Regions from separate parts of the Homo sapiens genome. Here region 1 is linked to region 2. The links are contacts of gene promoters, found by promoter capture Hi-C in human tissues and cell types (Jung and others, 2019). All regions are on one chromosome and are shown on one strand. The core of a region is centred on a gene start or on the middle of the fragment in contact, and the rest is flanking DNA. Distances in the headings are between cores, read along the strand shown. Region 1 has its middle 7.2 kb from the start of GLYATL1-AS1. Region 2 holds the start of MPEG1 (macrophage expressed 1).

Region 1 (4,716 bases), core at 845-3,344, 150 kb before region 2:
AAGTGGATGAGAGATGAGTCATTTACATCCAATGAGGGAAAAACAGCCTCCAGAGACTCTTCGTCCATTGGCCAGTGAGAGTGTCAATTCCCAGGCTCCTGCCGCACGCGGGCGAGCCCTTCTAGGCGGGAAAAGTTCAGCTGAGAGATATAAGAGAGCAGACTTTCCAGCACCTGTGAATCCAGAGCGGTGGGCACTGACGGGCACGTGCACCGTGTGGACAGACTCTCCAGTTCTATGAGTGGTTTTTCTTTTCCCGGGTCGGACCTGGAGTTCTTAAGAGGATGGCTGACAAGGGCAGTAGGCAGAAGGACCTCAGCCCAAAGTCAAGGAGGTTTTGGATGGGGAGCTGGGCAGCCGCCCGTTGTAATTCCCTTCCCGTCTCAGCTTCAAAGGCCAAGAGTTGTACTCCTGAAAAGATACTTGGAGATCATCTGGGTGTTCCTGAATCTCAAGAGGGTCGTTTGACCCTGGTGGGTCCTTTCCCTACCCGGTGCCTTTCTCGCCCGTAGAAGGAGACCAGGTTCGGTTAAGCAGAGCAGAAACTATTCACTGATCAAGGAATGGAGTAGGAGAGCTCCTGCTCAAAGTGCCTGGGGTGTAGTGTGGGGGTGCTCCTTAAGGTCTTTTAGGGCACGTAGTTGGAAAGCAAGGATTCCTGGAAAGAGATGGGGCTTTCCAGAACCAGCTGAGTGTGGCAGTCTCCTATTTGCTGTTGCCGCCCAACACTACATGTGCCTAGCAAGCTGCATTTCTCCCGTAGGCACAGATTGAGGTATGGTAATTAGCAATTGAGGATTCAGGTTAGGGTAGCGCTTCTAAGTTCGTTTCCCATCTTGTAGCACGGTGGTTACTGACATCCAGTCTCTGTTTCTGTAAGCAAGCACAGCTTCAAGCACAGGTTACCTTAATTGGTTCTGGGGCTTTAGGAAAGCATTGAGGTCATCCTGCGGTGACAGAGGCAGCTGTTCAAAGAACTTGGTGCGAGTTTGAGGCAGGGGTTGTGGAGTGAGGCAGGTAAAAATGCAGATTCCATAGCCACACCCCGACATACTGAATCAGAGTCTGTGAGGGTGGGATCTGGAATCCTTTTTAAAAAGCTCAGAGGAACCAATTCACACGAACAATAAAAGTTTCATCTGAGCCAAAGACCTTAATCTAGAAATGAGAAAACGGGGATCCCCAAAAGGGTTACAGGGAGAGGGTTGGAGGAAAGTTAGACTATGACAGTTTTAGGGTGGTTCTTTCCTGGCCTTGGGAAGTTTTCTCAGCTGCTGCTCTGATCAGTACGCAGCTGAATGCTTTAGGGGAACCCTCTTCATATATCCGGAGTTCCCTCTCTGTGCAGGTCTCCCACCAGGGTCTGTGGCCCGTGACCTCTTGCCACCCTGGTCTCTCCGCTTTGTCTCCTCAAATCTAGAATTCCAACTGGCTTTGTCTTGCTGCCCTTCCTTGCGACACTGGCCTGGAATCCTTCAAGTTAGTCTGCTAGCGTGGATTGTAGGATGCATCTCAGTTGTCACTATCCTTAATTGCATGATGTCCAGTTCCTCGCAAAGCGTTGTTTCATATATTTTGCCCATTTTTGTTTTGTTTTGCTTTCAGACTAGGGGGAAATCCAGTCCCTGTTCTTCCATTTTGGCCAGAAATTCAAGGTAATGACTTTTAATATTTCTGACTACTAGTTCCATCATCTCTCTCACTTCTGGATCTGTCTCTATTCACTGATGTTCCTAGTCATTATGGGTCATATTTATCCACTTCTTAAATGCTTGCTGATTGTTTTATTAGATATCAAGCTTTGTTAATTTCACAACTTTGGGTGCCAGAAATTTTTACCTTCCCATCAATATTCTTGAACTTTATTTTAGTACCTTGATATTTTACATGGAAACCATTTTATAATTTCAAAGTTTGCTTTTATTTGTTAGGTGGGAGCAGAACTAGGGCTAATTTTGTCCCACTGTGGAAGAAATACCTTTCAGAGTAGTCTCTCTGATATTTCATGAATTGTGAAATTTTCTAGTCAGATTTTTGTGAACTGAATCTATTCCCTGTCCTGTATGAGCCTCAGAAATTGTTACATCTGCTCCTTTTGGGTACTTCTTTTTCCTGTTCCTTTTCAACAGCTTTATTCCACTCATGCATTGACCAAGCTGAAATCTCAAGGGATACCCACTGCAGATCTCTGATACTATGTGCTCCTGTGGCTCTCTTCTCCCTAGTACTCTGCCATACAAGCTCCAGTCAGCCTGGCCTCCCAAAACTCCAAGCTTGTCTTCTCAACTCAGGGAAACTGCTAGACTCTGCCTGTTCTCTTGCCTAAGATATGCCTTGGAAACTCCATACAGTAACCTAAATAGCCACAGGGCTTACCTCATATGATTTTCTTCTCAGATATCAGAGATGAGGTCCCACACAGCCTGATGTCCAATGATTGAGAGTTGTTATTTCACAGATCTTTCCTTTTTGGGTTTTTTTTAGACATTTCATGTGGCAGAATGAACTCAATCCTTGTTTCTCCATCTTATCCACTAGTAAATATTAGTTATATTCTCTTCGAATTCATCATGAATTCCATGAAGACTGAAGAAAACAAGTCACTTAGTGCCACAAAAGATGACCCGAGGACTAGACCTGAAGTTTCAAAGGTATATCTACTTTTTTACAACTCCTCAGAGGAGTGATAGTCTAACCATAGTGCCATATGAGGTTCTTGGAGATAAGTTCTTAAACAATGGTCGTTATAAGCCTTTCTCTTAGGTAGTTTAAAATATATTTGGGTAGCTCATACACATAAGTGCTTGTGGAAAGCATAATGATAGAGTATGAGTTAATAATGCTAAACGTGTCTTAAGACAACAAGATGACTAACAAATAATATAGACACTTAAAATCATGGAAAGTATAGACAGGCAAAAATAATTAGCTAATGTTTTCTGAGGAAACACTGTGTGCCTGGAATTGTGTCCCATCATATGGATTATCCCATTTAACAGTTAATAGAACTGTGCAGTAGTTATTATCATACTTATTTTACAAAAGAAGAAACTGAAGCTCAACTTGCTTATAGTTGCAGAAGTAACGGACTTCAAAGCAAGGATCTTAACCTAGGCAGTCAGACTACAGAGACTGGTTTTTGACCCACACTATTTTGCTCAAAATATGCAAAATGATAATACTAAATTGAGATATAAACAAGTGATTTTAGAGTACAGAGAGAAGAATACTTAATTCAGACTAAGGAAACTACAGCAGCATCATATGAGAAATGATTTATTAATGAAAAATAAATCTAAAATTGTCAAACTCATAGATGTAGAAGTGGTTGCTGGGCTGGGAAGAGAGAAAAATGGAAGTGTTAGTCAAGGGATACAAAGTTTCCTTACACAAGGTGAATAAGTTGTAGGGATCTGAACAGCATGAGTGCCAATAGTTAACACTATTGTGCACTCAAATTCTTGCTAAAATGATAGATTTTATGTTGTGTTCTTATTACAAAAATAATAAATAAGAGGGCAGGAAGAGACTTTGGGAGGTGATAGATAGGTCGATGTCATAGAATGTGGTGATCATGTATCTTCACATTCATCAAGTTGTATACACTAATTATGTACATTAATTATGCATTTGGTATGTCTAAAACTAATTTATTTTTTAAAAAGAATGAATAACATTTCACTAGTGTATCAAGGATGAAGGAATGGCCTGAGTAAAGTCATGTACACAGGAAAACATATTTGGGGAACAGGATAGCTGCATTTGATGCTATGTAAGGAGAATTCAAGAATGTGGTAGGCAAATAATGCTTTCTATACTGGTAAGGTAGTGTGGTGCCAAGATCACAGTAGGCTTTATATCAATAAGAGCTTTTCATATTGACAGTAAAAATATTTTCTACTTGTGAAACAATAAAATGGATTCATTGGTTCACCTGAGTGGACATTCCAGAATTCAGCAGAGCTCTTAATTCAGTAGTATACAGTTTCTTTGAGGACTTGTTTGTGTGTTCAGTCTCTATGTTCTGCTTTTCATGTTATCCCCTGGCTGGCTTTCTGCATAGTGACAAATACAGCTGCAGTAATATCGGATGTGTTACTCTCCCGATAATGAGTCTACCCTGGTTTCCTGAGGAAACTTCTCTTTGCCATCTTATTGTCCCAACTTAAGTAGCTCACCCATTTCAGCACAAAACCTTGTGACTCCGAGGGCACATATAGATATTCTTAAGCTGTCATGAATTCATTTCCATACATGTATGGCTCCTAAAAAGTGTGAGAGAGGTAGAATAGCTTTCTGGAAAATAGCTGCAGTATCTCCTACTTCTTTGAAATCCATGTGTAGGTTTTTGGATTTTCTTCTGTAAATAGAGGAGACGCGTTTGCCGACTTTATCTCTGTATCGCTTAGGAGGAGTTATTTAATTCACTTTAGACTTTGTTAAGTTAAATATTAATGTTAAAATGCCCAGGGCTATTTTGTTCAAGACAGTTGCCACTAATCACGTGATTTTTTTTTTTTTTTTTTGAGACGGAGTCTCGCTGTGTTGCCCAGGCTGTAGTGCAGCCCCACGATCTCGGCTTACTGAAAGCTCTGCCTTCTGGGTTCACGCCATTCTCCTGCCTCAGCCTCCTGAGTAGCTGGGACTACAGGGATCCGCCACCATGCCCAGCTAATTTTTTCTATTTTTTAGGAGAGACGGGGTTTCACCGTGTTA
Region 2 (5,043 bases), core at 495-2,994:
GAAGCCCCCGGGGCACTTTTTCAGAGACGGTGCCCCTAAATCTCTGGATATAGCAGGATCTACCAGGGGGTTCCCAACTGTGCAGCTAAAGAACCCGCCAAAGGGGACCGCAAACCTGCTTCCCAACTCATAGTCCTGAGAAACACATACCTTGAGGTTTTCAAAGAGTCTCAGTGGAAAGTAGCCGGCTGGGCATGACTGTGCATTTGTCATGGGGTTTATGCTCTTGCTGCTGAAGAGGCCCCCAAAAAGCAGTCCTGAGTTTTCAGGTACTTGGCTGCTGGCCACACACCAAAAAGCCCTAAATTCAGCTTTTGCCACCTGGAACACATCTTCACACACGGTCTTGCAGAAGACGAGGAGAGTGCACTTTCGATGACACTCCAGGTGGTTGTAACCCTCCTCGTGGATCTGGGATAACAGGTGCACCGGGGAGTAGCCAGAGGGGCAGGAGAAATCACCAGTGAGTGGATTCTTCTGCTCCAACTTTTGGCAGAGGAGGACATCCCTATTCCCTGAGAGCTGAGTGCATTCCTGATAAACCCCACCGAAAGAGAAGTTGGTCATTTTCCCCTCGCAGGAGCCATCATCCGTGTTGGCCTGAAAATTGAAGTTGGGAGAATTGAGATCTGTGCAGCCAGGGTAGGTGTTGAATGTATAATAGCGCTTCACAGCAGTTTCCACTGTCTTTGACACCTTCTTCACCAGGGGGCCTGGCAAGTCAGGTAGCATGTTGGGGTTGATGAAGAAATGCAGCGGCAGGCCAGAGCGGTCGATGGCCACCAGGTGGTTGGTGATACCCTGCTGCCAGGCCTGGAGGGTGATGCCTGGGTAAAAAGGAACCCCTCCAATGCTCTGCACCCTGGAGTTGGTTCGGTTTGAGAGGTAGCTCTTGGTGAGGACATTCTGCGAGGTATAGTTTTCCTCAAATTTGAAGTTCACGGTGTTTTGAAAGGCAAGTCCAGCAGAGGCGGTCACGGCACTACGACTGCTCTGGCTGTCTTGGAGGAAGGAGGCCCTGAGGTGGTCCTCCTGAATAAGAGCAGCCCCAGCGTCGACACTGGTGGTGACGTGGGTGCCATAGTTGAGCACCAGGAGTTCTGCCAGGTAGGTGGCCATCCTCGTCTGGTTGTTCTCTAGACGGTCAGAGATGTCAAGGAGTTCCTTCCTAAAACCTGAGCTTAGCTCTAAAGTTGGGTTGATTTTGACTGTGTAGACGAGGTTTCTTACCTGAACTCGGGTAGTTATAGCTTGGTCCTTCACTTGGAGGGTCTTCATCCTCTGGAACTCAGTGGAAAACTTGCCATTGACTTTGGAAAAAAGAGAGAGTTCTGTGTTGATGGAGTAGGAGGTGCTACTCTGGTAATTTGCCCAGGATTCCAGGATTTCTGAGTTCATCTCCAGGTTGCTCTGTTTCTGGGGAATGGTGAAGATTTCATCAGGGATGATATACTGTCCATCCTCTGTTGTCCTGCAGTTGGAGTAAGTCAATTCCATAACTCGTCCCATGTCCACATTCCGCAGATTGTCCCAGCCCCCTCCAGGTAGGACTTCCAGGACAGGTAGTTTCAAGGCATTCTTGCATTTTTGAACTCCAACTTCGTCCATCTCTCCCGAAGGCTTGCCTGATTTAGCCCATGCTGCCGCTGCCCAGAAGAGGATGGTGGCCCTGAAGTTGTTCATGGCTCAGACAGCCCCAGCCACTCACCAGCCCTACACAGCGGCCAGCAAGCTTTGGGCAAACTAAGATGGAGAAAACAGAAGCAGATGATGAAGCGGAAAACTCATGAGTTCTCTAAAAGCTACAAGTTCCTCTTTAAGCTAATTTAATGACAAAATGGGGAAACGAGAGTTGGTTGGAATATTAAAGACCATCAGGTCTTTGAAGAATTTATGCCGTACTAAACATGCAAACACACCCCTACATGCCTAACAGGTAGCTATCCTAATTTTTCCCCCAGCTCTGGCTGGTTACTCTGCTGCAGGGGTGTGCACTTAGAAAAAAATCCCGACCCCACACCCTACTGCTTCCTCCACCAGAAAGTTTGGCTTTGCTTTTTGCTCATTCTCTTGGACTTGATGTTTCATATTTTCCCTGACTGCTGTCTCTTGGGACTCCATTATCAGTTTTCTTTTACTATAAATGCAGAGGCAAATGACCACACCACCCTTACTGAAACACCCTGGCTCCACCATACCTATGCAAGCTGTTAGTCAAGGCCAACCCTGGGTTTCCTCTTTGCCTGAGGGTGGAGGCTGTTTCCACAAAAGAAAGGAGTGAAACTCTTGGACACTTGTCCTGTGGGTTTCACTGTTATGAACCATAGCAATTCTGTCTTTGGGGATGGCATTGTCTGGAGCACAGCTGACAGGGCCTGAAGAGGATTCGGTTGCAATATGCTGGGAAACCCCAATTTGCATTGTCCTAAGCATTCAAAGCGAGGGCAAGGAACTCCTACACTGTGTTGTTTTCATTCAGATAGAAATGTTCAAGACAAAACCACACTATTATCTAGATTTTGATTTATCAACAGCAGACAGGGGCCAAGGAACATATGTGTATGTGTACACACATTTATATATCCTCTGTGTGTGTGCATTTTGTATGAAGTTGGTACCTGTTATACCTTTAATTTTTTGTTCCATTGCTAAGTGTGTGTAATCAGTTTAGGTGGATAAAAAAGAATGTGGCTCTTCACTACCCAATATTTTTTCTAAAAGCAAAAATTCATTTGCTATATCATTAGAAGAATATAATTACATGAGTTTCTTTTCAAGTTCCAATGCCAGCTCTATTAGAGCCCATAATTTAAAACAATGGTGACAGGTTTGATTGAAACCCAACTCTGTTAATTCTTTGGGACAATTAGGCTATGTCTTAGTATGCTTAGTGGTAGCCAGGGAATCCAGAGGACTTAGTGAAGCTCCCAGTTGCATCCTTAACATTCCCAAGATTATACCATGAACTAGATACAGTACTGAGACTGAAAAAGTCATGTTGCAATTCACAGGTATCACTACACCATCACCTGTATGCATCCTGGAAGGAAGGTTCCAAGGAGTTGAATTCCTCTGTTGGTTATTAATGCAGCAAAGAAGTGTTTTTAGAAAGAATGAGGCTAGTTATCTTGCTTCCCAGGCTGGGCTTCACCAGTTATTATCAAAACCATGATGGTGTTCTATAAATCTAGAAATACTGCATTCCGGGTATATTTTTTTTTCCAAGACAGGGTCTTGCTTATTGCCCAGGCTTGAGTGCAGTAGCTATTCACAGGCATGGTCCCACTACTAATCAGCATAGGAGTTTTGACCTGCTCCATTTCCAACCTGGACCCGTTTAGCCCTCCTTAGGCAACCTGGTGATTTGCTCCAAGGAGGCCACCATATTGATGCTGAGCTTAGTGCAGACACCCAACTGGCATAGCACACTACAGCCCAGAACTCATGGATTCAAGCAATCCTCCCACATCAGCTTCCCAGGAATCTGGGACTGCAGTCATGCACCACCACACCTGGCCATTCTGGTTCTATTTGTGCCACAGTTATCATGCTTCTGGGAAGTGACACCAGCCACCTAAGAGGGATTAATTTATGAACCAGTGCCTAGTCTGTATTTGGCTAAAGAACCAAATCTTTGCACAGGATGTTCTAGTTAATTTATAAATCAGTTAGCCATAAATTTATACCTCAGCAGCATGATCCCAGAATTAGAAAAATGAGAGTTGAATGCCCTTGAGTACTTCCAATAAGTCTGTTGAAATACCTACATACTTCTCTTCAAACTATTTCTGGGATGGTTCATCAAAATTAGAATACTCTCACACTGCTTTGGAGACAAGCTGACAATTTGTTACCCTCTGCTTTCTCTTTAGTAGACCCTGTTGAGAGCTCACTCTCCTGAAATGAGAATACAAGCAAGGTTAATACAGACAATTCTATATTCAGGTGTTCCTATGTCTCCAGACGTCTAGTCACTGTATTTTTTATTCTATAGACTTTGTCTTCATTTTATCATAGGAAAAAAAAATTGAAAATAGCAGAAAGAGCCAACAACGGTAAAATTACATTGTACCCATAAGACAAAATATTGTATAGCCATCACAATTATTTAAAACTATTTTAATAACATGAGAAATTCTTATGCCATAATGTTACTGGAAAGGGTTCCCAATGCAGACCTCAAGAGAGAGTTCTTGGACTTTGTGCAAGAAGGACCAGGGCAAGTCCACAGAGTAAGGTGAAAGTAAGTTTATTAGAGAAGTAAAGAAACAAAAGAATGGCTACTCCATAGGCAGAGCAGAAGTATGTGCTGCTTGATTAAGGATACTTATCATTATTTCTTAATTATATGCTAAACAAGGGGTGGATTAATCATGAGTTTTCTGGGAAAGAGGTGGGCAATTCCCAGAACTAAGGGTTCCTCTCCTTTTTAGACTATACAGGGTAACTTCTGGAAATTGGCAGTCATGGCACTGGTGGAAACATCTTTTAGCATGCGAATGCACTACAATTAGTGTATAATGAACAATGAGGATGACCAGAGTTCACTCTTGTCGCCATCTTAGTTTTGGTGGGTTTTGGCTGCCTTCTTTACTGCATGCTCTTTTATCAGAAAGATCTTTGTGATCTGTATCTGTATCTTATGCCAATCTTCTATCTCATCCCATGACTTAGAATACTTAACCCTCTGGGAATGCAGCCCAGCCTTCTTTTACCCAGCCCCTATTCGAGATGGAGTTATTCTGGTTCAAATATCTCTGACAATAATGTTATGAAAAAAAAGAATGATAAACATTCAGCATGACCCCAACTATGTACATAACTAGAGGGATGTACGCCAATGCATAGACAGTAATTACATCTGGTTGAGAGGTTTTTCTAAATTATTTTAATTTTTTCCTCTTTTCTGTGTTTTTTGAGTTTTCAACAATGAGCATGTATTTATTAACTCGAGAAATTTGTATTCAGAGCCTATTAAGTACCAAACACTGATGGGTATTGGGTAATCATCACTTTTGTGCTCAGGAAAATAACCAATGCACA

The links. Contacts are between HindIII fragments. The study calls those that stand out against the background at their distance.
Region 1: a contact is called between a fragment that was not itself captured here and the fragment with the promoter of MPEG1 in region 2, in 1 of the 25 tissues and cell types used here (pancreas).

Annotation. Positions count from the first base shown.
Region 1 is chr11:59,063,323-59,068,038 of GRCh38, forward strand. No RefSeq gene overlaps it. Among named protein-coding and RNA genes, the nearest start is that of GLYATL1-AS1, 7.2 kb to the left of the region's middle. The HindIII fragment of the contact is 5,883 bases long and covers 1-4,716 here.
Region 2 is chr11:59,211,183-59,216,225 of GRCh38, forward strand. It overlaps MPEG1 (macrophage expressed 1), which reads right to left and starts at 1,745. Exons shown (of 1, transcript NM_001039396.2): 1 at 1-1,745. The coding sequence starts at 1,683. It also overlaps the pseudogene RN7SL42P. RefSeq lists an enhancer at 1,722-1,921. The HindIII fragment of the contact is 9,754 bases long and covers 1-5,043 here.